Linked DNA regions of Homo sapiens: region 1 is linked to region 2. Evidence: promoter capture Hi-C in human tissues and cell types (Jung and others, 2019). All regions are on one chromosome and are shown on one strand. Each heading gives the region's core, a stretch centred on a gene start or on the middle of the fragment in contact. The rest is flanking DNA. Distances are from core to core; before and after follow the strand shown.

Evidence for each region. The method cuts DNA at HindIII sites, captures the fragments that hold promoters and counts their contacts. A contact is called where the count stands out against the background at its distance.
Region 1: a contact is called between a fragment that was not itself captured here and the fragment with the promoter of HECA in region 2, in 1 of the 25 tissues and cell types used here (thymus).

Annotation. Positions count from the first base shown.
Region 1 is chr6:140,726,067-140,729,585 of GRCh38, reverse strand. All of the region lies in intron 4 of LOC105378027 (a long non-coding RNA gene), which reads right to left. Among named protein-coding and RNA genes, the nearest start is that of MIR4465, 44 kb to the right of the region's middle. The HindIII fragment of the contact is 8,741 bases long and covers 1-3,519 here.
Region 2 is chr6:139,133,081-139,136,509 of GRCh38, reverse strand. It overlaps HECA (hdc homolog, cell cycle regulator), which reads right to left and starts at 1,430. Exons shown (of 4, transcript NM_016217.3): 1 at 843-1,430. The coding sequence starts at 1,113. RefSeq lists enhancers at 359-478, 1,344-1,638, 2,917-2,966 and silencers at 589-858, 1,259-1,338, 1,449-1,638. The HindIII fragment of the contact is 7,882 bases long and covers 1-3,429 here.

The DNA of each region.
Region 1 (3,519 bases), core at 691-3,190, 1.6 Mb before region 2:
CATTGTTTTTATTTGTACTTTTCTAATGACAAATGTTGTTGAGCATTTTACCATATGTTTATATGATTTTTCTACATCTTTTTTAAAGTAAGCTGTTTATTTAAATATATTGGTCACTCTTACTTGGGTTATTTAAACAGAATAAGGCCCTTAAATATGTTGACACCTGAATCACTGGAACATTAAATGACCTTGCAAATATGATTAAGTTAAGGCTTTTGAGATGGGAAGATTAACCTGGCTTATCTGAGTGGGCCCAATGTAATCATAAGGGATCGTAATAAAGGAAGGGAGGAAAATCAGAATCAGAGTAGATGTGATGTTGAAAGTAAAGGGTGGAGTCATGCAGGACTATAAGTAGCCTCTAGAAGCTCAAAAAGGGAAGGAAATAGCTTCTCCCCTAGAGCTTCCAGAAGGAATGCATACCTGCTGGCCATTTTTGAACTTGTGATCTCTCAAAATGTAAGATAAATTTTTATTGTTTTAAGTCACTGTCTTAGTTCATTTGTGTTGCTATAAAGAAATACTGGAGGCAGGGTAACTTATAAAGGAAATAGGTTTATTTGGCTCATGGTTCTGCAGGCTTGAGGGGCCTATAAGGGGCATGAGGCTGGCGTCATCTGCTTCCGGTAAGGGCCTCGGGTTGCTTCTACTCATGGTGAAAGGTAAAGGGGAGCCTGTGTGTGAAGAGATCACATGATAAGAGAGGAAGCTATTAACTACTAGAATGGCACCAAGCCATTCAGAGGGATTTGCCCTCAAAACCCAAACACCTGCCATTACACCCTACCTCCAACTTTGAAGATCAAATTTCAACATGGAGTTTGGCAGACAAACATCCAAACTATAGCAGTGACTAAGTTTTTGATAATTTGTTACAACAGAAACAAAAAAACTAGCACAAGTTATCTAATTTATCATTGTAGAGTCTTACAATTTCTTTGTATCTTCACAAGGTAGGATTTTTTTTTCTTAACAGTAGCTTTTTAATTTTAGTAAATGATATGATTTGGATCTGTCACCCAGTTTAAAGCTCATGTCAAATTGTAATTAATCCTCAGTATTGGAGGTGGGGCCTGGTAGGAGATGATTGGATCATGGGGGCAGAGTTCTCTTGAATAGTTTAGTACCATCCCCATTAGTACTGTATAAAGAATGATTTCTCATGAGATCTGGTTATTTAAAAGTGTGCAGCACCTTCCCCCCTCTTTCTTCCTCATGCTCTGGCCATGTAAGACATGCCTGCTTCCTCTTTGCCTTTTACCATGATTGTGAGTTTGTTGAGGCCTTTCCAGAAAGCCAAGCAGGAGCCACTATGCTTCTTCCTGTACAGACTGCAGAAATCTTTTTTCTTTAAAAATTTTCCAGTTTCAGGTATTTCTTTATAGCAATGCAAAAATAGACTAATACAGAAAAGTGCAACTCAAATTGACTATTTTTTTTCAAGGATCTTGACGGTGTATCTAAAAGTTATTTACCAAACCCAACCACATAGGTATTTTTCTTAATTTTTCATTCTAGAACTTTTATATTTTCACATTTCATTTAGTTCTATAATCCATTTTGACATAAAATTTGTGTAACATGTAAGATATAGGCCTAGGTTGATATCTTTGCATATGGAAATTCAATTGTTCCAGCATCATTTAGTGAAAAGACTTTCCTTTTACCTTTGAATTGCTTCCATGCCTTCATCAAAAAAATCAGTTGACTATATTTCTGTGAATCTATCTCTGAGCTCCCTATCTGTGAATCTATCTCTGAGCTCTCTGTTTTGTTCCATTGACCTAAGTGTCTATTTTTGCATCAATATGATACTCTCTTGATTACCATAGATTTGCAGTAAATGGTTGAAATAGGACAATGTGAGTCCTCCAACTTTGTTCTTCTGAAGTATTATGTTGGCTATGCTAAGTACTGTGCCTTTCTATATAACATTGAAAAGTAACTTGTCAATATTGACAAAGTCACTTTCTGGGATTTTGGCAGGTATTGTGTTAAATTTGTGCATCAGTTAGAGAAGAATTGACATTTTCATCATATGGTAATAATTATGAACACAGAGCATCACTCCACTTATTTACATCTTTTATTTGTTTTTTTAGTTTTATGAATAGGGAACTTAGACAATATTTTGTTAAATTTATGCCTAGATACTCCCTTTTTGGAAGTTATTGTAAATAGTTTTTTTTTTAGTTAAAAATGTCAATAGTTTAATACCTTATTGATAATATATAGGGAAATTTTTGAATATGGACTTATATTCCACAAACTTGCTTATTAATCCTGGGAGGCTTTTGTAGAGTATTTGGTGTTGTCTACATAGACAATTATTTCAACTGTATATAAGGCAGTTTCATTTCTTCCTTTCCAACTGTCTAGGTCTACTTTGGCTGTTATAAGAAAATACCACAGTCTGGGTGACTTATGAATAAAGGAAATTTATTTTTCATCAGTTCTGGGAAGTCCAAGATCAAAGACCCATTAGGCTCAGTGTCTGGTGAGGGTTCACATTCTCATAGATAGCCTTCTTCTCACTCTAACATTACATGGTGAAAGAAAAGGGATCTCTCTTGCACCTTTTTTATAAAGGCATGAAGATCTCAATTATGAGGGCTCCATACCCATGACTTAATCACCTCCCAAAGGATTTACCTCTCAAGGTTAATACTATCACCTTGGGAGTGATGACTTCAGCATTAGAATTTGGAGATATGAGGAGACACAAACATTCAGGTCATATCACCAAACTGTATATATTTAATTTCATTTTGTTATTGCACTAGCAAGAACTTCTAGAATGATGTTAAATTGGAATTATAAGGGAGGATGCTCTTGACTTATTCCTGATCTTAGAAGGAAAGTATCTAATCTGTCACTGAAACTGGCCCAATAGTCCCATAGATATGGATAAACATAGAAATTGACCACTGTGGTCTTAAAGCTTGAACCTTGCATTTGTTTTATATTAATTCCTTCCTCAGGAAATGATGTTCAGGCCTCTCACAAAAAGTATTAAAGAACTGAAACTCACCAGATCACCACATTCAGACAATGAAATGCTGGACCCCTATTCATCATGATTGCTTCCTTGACCTCCCTAGTTTCTGCTTTCTTACATATCATTATATTTTTTCCCTGCTACAAAAAACCATAGTTTTAGTAGGTCGGAGAAACGGATTTGAAACTGAGGCCCTATATCCTCAGCTGCAACAACCAATTAAGGCCTTCTTCCTTGGCATTACTCATTGTATTAGTGATTGGCTTTCTGTGCAACAACTGGCAGGACCTTGACCAAACCCCTGTTGTTTTGGTAACATCACCATTAACTATATTGTTAGCTCTAGTATTTTGTAGATGTTCATTATTAATTCAAAGAAGTTCCACTCTATTACTAATTGGCCAAAAATTTTTATCCTAAATGGGTGTTAGATTTTGTCAATGGGTGTTGCTTTTTGTGAGTCAATTGAAGTGGTCATATGTTATTCCTTCAACAGCCTGTAGATATAGTAGATTTTA
Region 2 (3,429 bases), core at 181-2,680:
ACTAGAGGAATTCAAAGAACTGTCCAAATAAGTAAGTGTTTGCCCAGCACCTTATAACGAAAACCATGGCTCTGTAATGAGAACAGAAATCCTGTCACATCTGGGCCAGTTCCTAAGTGTCCCCTCAAAAGGAACATTCAGGCACTACCTAAGATTATGAGGCTTCCTTCTGAAAATGTTAAGCACAATGACATAGAGAATGATTTTTCTTTTCTTTCTTTTCTTTTTTTTTTTTTTTTTTTAACTCCGGGCTGAGAACGGAAGTCAAGTTCAGATTCTCTTCCTTCCTCAAGCAAGCCAAAAAATTAAAGAGCAAACACAGAGGCCCTAAATGTCTCGAGGCCTCTTCACCTGTGGCGATCGACGCAGCAAGCCTGGGTGTGCTAAGAATTGAGGCTCTCTCTCCTTCATTCCGGGGGTTACGGGTGGCCTTGGAGCACCGGGAAGAATTAACCGGTGCCTAAGTTTTCAATCGGATCATTCTTCTCAACTTGGGCGGCTCTTTCCTCCCTTCCTTCCTCCCTTCGGCCCGGCACACACGGCGGGGCAGTGCCAGCGCGGGCAGCAGGCTGGGCCCGAGGGCAGCGCTGCCGCAGCCGGGAGCCCCTCAGAGTGTGGGGCGCGGGCTGCCCCCCGCGCGGACACCGGGCAGGGGCCGCAGATCTGTCCCCGCCGCCAGGCGTGGGGACCGCGAAGGGGCAGCCGCGGCGGGGCGGAGGGGCGGGGTGAGCACTTCCTGACTCTCGCATTGTCCACGCACCGCCCGCGCCACCCAGGGCCCCGCCACCGCGCCGTCCCCGTCGGGGAGGAAGTTGGCGCTCGCCCCGCCAGCCCCGTCTTACCGTTTTTGGCATCGCCCGCGGCCGCAGCCCCCGCGGCGGCCGCAGCGTTCGCGGCGCCAGTCCCCGCGCCTCCGGCGCCCGCCGCGCCTCCGGCGCCCGGCGCGCCCGCCGCCGCCGCCCCGCAACCGGCCGCCGCCGCCAGGGCCCCCCCGGCCGCCGCTCCCGCCGCGCCCGCCGCTGCCAGGGCCCCGGCTCCATTTTCCTGCTCGTCGCCGCTGCTGTTGGCGCGCTTGTTTTTGCGGCCGCCTTTGCTGTTTTTGGGGTTGGGCATCTCGCTCGCTCGCGTCCAGGTAGGTGCCCGGCGTCAGCGAAGGCGGATCCCAGAGGCACGGCCGTTCCCGGCCCTGCGTGAAGCCGGCTCCGGGAAAGAACGGAGGGCGCGAGCCGGCGGTTCCCTCGGCTCCCGTCTAGCCGCACGGCCCGTGCCGCGCCATCCTGGCCGCCGCGCCCTCTCCGGCTTCCTGGAGCCGGCACGCGGCCACCCGAGGCTCGCAGCCGCGCGGGCGCCGCGGGCCCGGGGCGCAAGCGAGACGCTCCCGAGCCGGAGGGAAAAGGCGGGTCTCCGGCTTGTTTTGATTCGGCTGCACTGACACGCTCTGGGCCCGCCCCCTCCCGTGACGACACTGGGGATTCGGCCTGGCCGCGCCCACCAGGTGACCTCACGGCTGACGGGACCGCCCGCGTGACGTCACGCCCCGCGCGGGGCCTGCCCACCTCGAGTGACGTCATCCAGGCGTCCCCACCCGGGCCTCCTGGACTCCCGGGCGTTCATGAGCTGCCCTGCTTGACTTGCTCCACCCGCCAGTGCAGTGGCATGTGGAGTTCTTCGGTGGCCTCCTGGCCTTAATGTAATTGAGGCTTAGAACAGTATGGTCTGGAAAAATAAGCTGTGACTAGAGCAAGAATGGAAAACAAAAGATTTTGGATTAATAACTCATTCAAAGGCTATGCCTTTCAGTAACAGTAATTAAAGAAACAGGGGACCGGGCGCGGTGGCTTATGCCTGTAATCCCAGCACTTTGGGAGGCCGAGGCGGGTGTATCACGAGGTCAAGAGATCGAGACCATCCTGGCCAACGTGGTGAAACCCTGTCTCTACTAAAAATACAAAAAAAAATTAGCTGGGCGTGGTGGCGTGCGCCTGTAGTCCCAGAAACTCGGGAAGCTGAGGCAGGAGAATCACTTGAACCTGGGATCCGAGATCGCGCCACTGCACTCCAGCTTGAGCAACAGAGCGAGACTCTGTCTCAAAAAAAAAAAAAAAAAAAGAAAAGAAAGAAAGAAACAGGGTAGAGTTCCCAGACAATGGGGATGAACACCAGGGTCCTGAATGGGAAGCCTTCACAGTCTGGTGGTGAAAACAATTCACTCAAACAAGACCCATCATCCAGGGATGTAACTAGATGTTGCCTGGACTCTGAAGCAGTCCCTGCTTGGGGGGAACCCATCCCTATGCATAGGGCTGAGTTGTCCTGAAAGATAGTGAAAGATAGGTAGCCAGGTTATGAGCAGTAGGAGATTAGGTGACACCAGTGAAGACAGGCAATATGAGGGCAGGGGACCCCTGGGAAGAGCTCCCCTTGATCTCTTTCTGCAATTCTATTCTACCTTTTCGGCCAACTCCTTCCCTTCCTTCAGGTCTCAGCTCAAATACATCACTTCCACAGAGACCTTCCCAGGAGAGCTGTCAGAAGTTCCACCCTGTTATTTTCCTCCTCCATCTCTAATTATGTTGGCAATGTAGGTGTTTACTTATTTCTTGTATATCTCCCTCTCACTGAAATGAAACCTCCATGGATAGATTTTATCTGCCTTGGGCACATCAGAGAACAGCTGGCATAAATTTGTTGAATGTATAAATTAGGTTCCTTCCTCACGAACTGTGGAGGAAAGACTAGTTTAGCTGACAGCTTTACAGTGTTCCCCTTTTATAGTGTAATCTTTAATTCAGCCCTTTAGTAAAAGCTCTGTCACGGTGTTGTTGTTACCATTAGAGGGTCTTGACTGCAAGTCGTCCAAGTTCTTGGCATTTTGAACAAACAATTGGACCAAACGCCCAGCAAAGCAAGGAAAGAAGAAAGCAGGGATTTATTGAGAATGAAAGTACACTCCACAGTATGGAAGCGGCCCCAGCGGTGGCTCAAGGTTCCGGATGCAGAATCTTCTGAGGTCCAAATACCCCCTGGAGGTTTCTCATGTAAATGAAGTGGTGACGCACAATTAGTCTGATTGGTTGCTTTCGTCAACCAATCAGAGGCTGAAGTGGAGTTAACAAAGGTCACACTTCTGTGCAATCACACTTTTTGCACACTTCTGTTTAAAAAGCAACCAATCAGAGGCTAAGGTGAAGTTACAAAGTTGCACTTCTATGCAAAGACTCCACCCGCAATCAGTCTCATTGGTTGCTGACAGCCAGTTTCCCATCTGCCACGCAGAAAAGGTGAGGGTTTGCAAAGGGAGCAGCTTCTGGTCCTTTTGTTACTCAGGTGTGGAAAGTTAGGGTTTTCCTTTCAATTTAGTTTAGGAAGTGGGGTGAAACGCCCTTAGGTTCCCTGCCTCCAGACTCTGTTCTCTGCCTCATTGTGAAC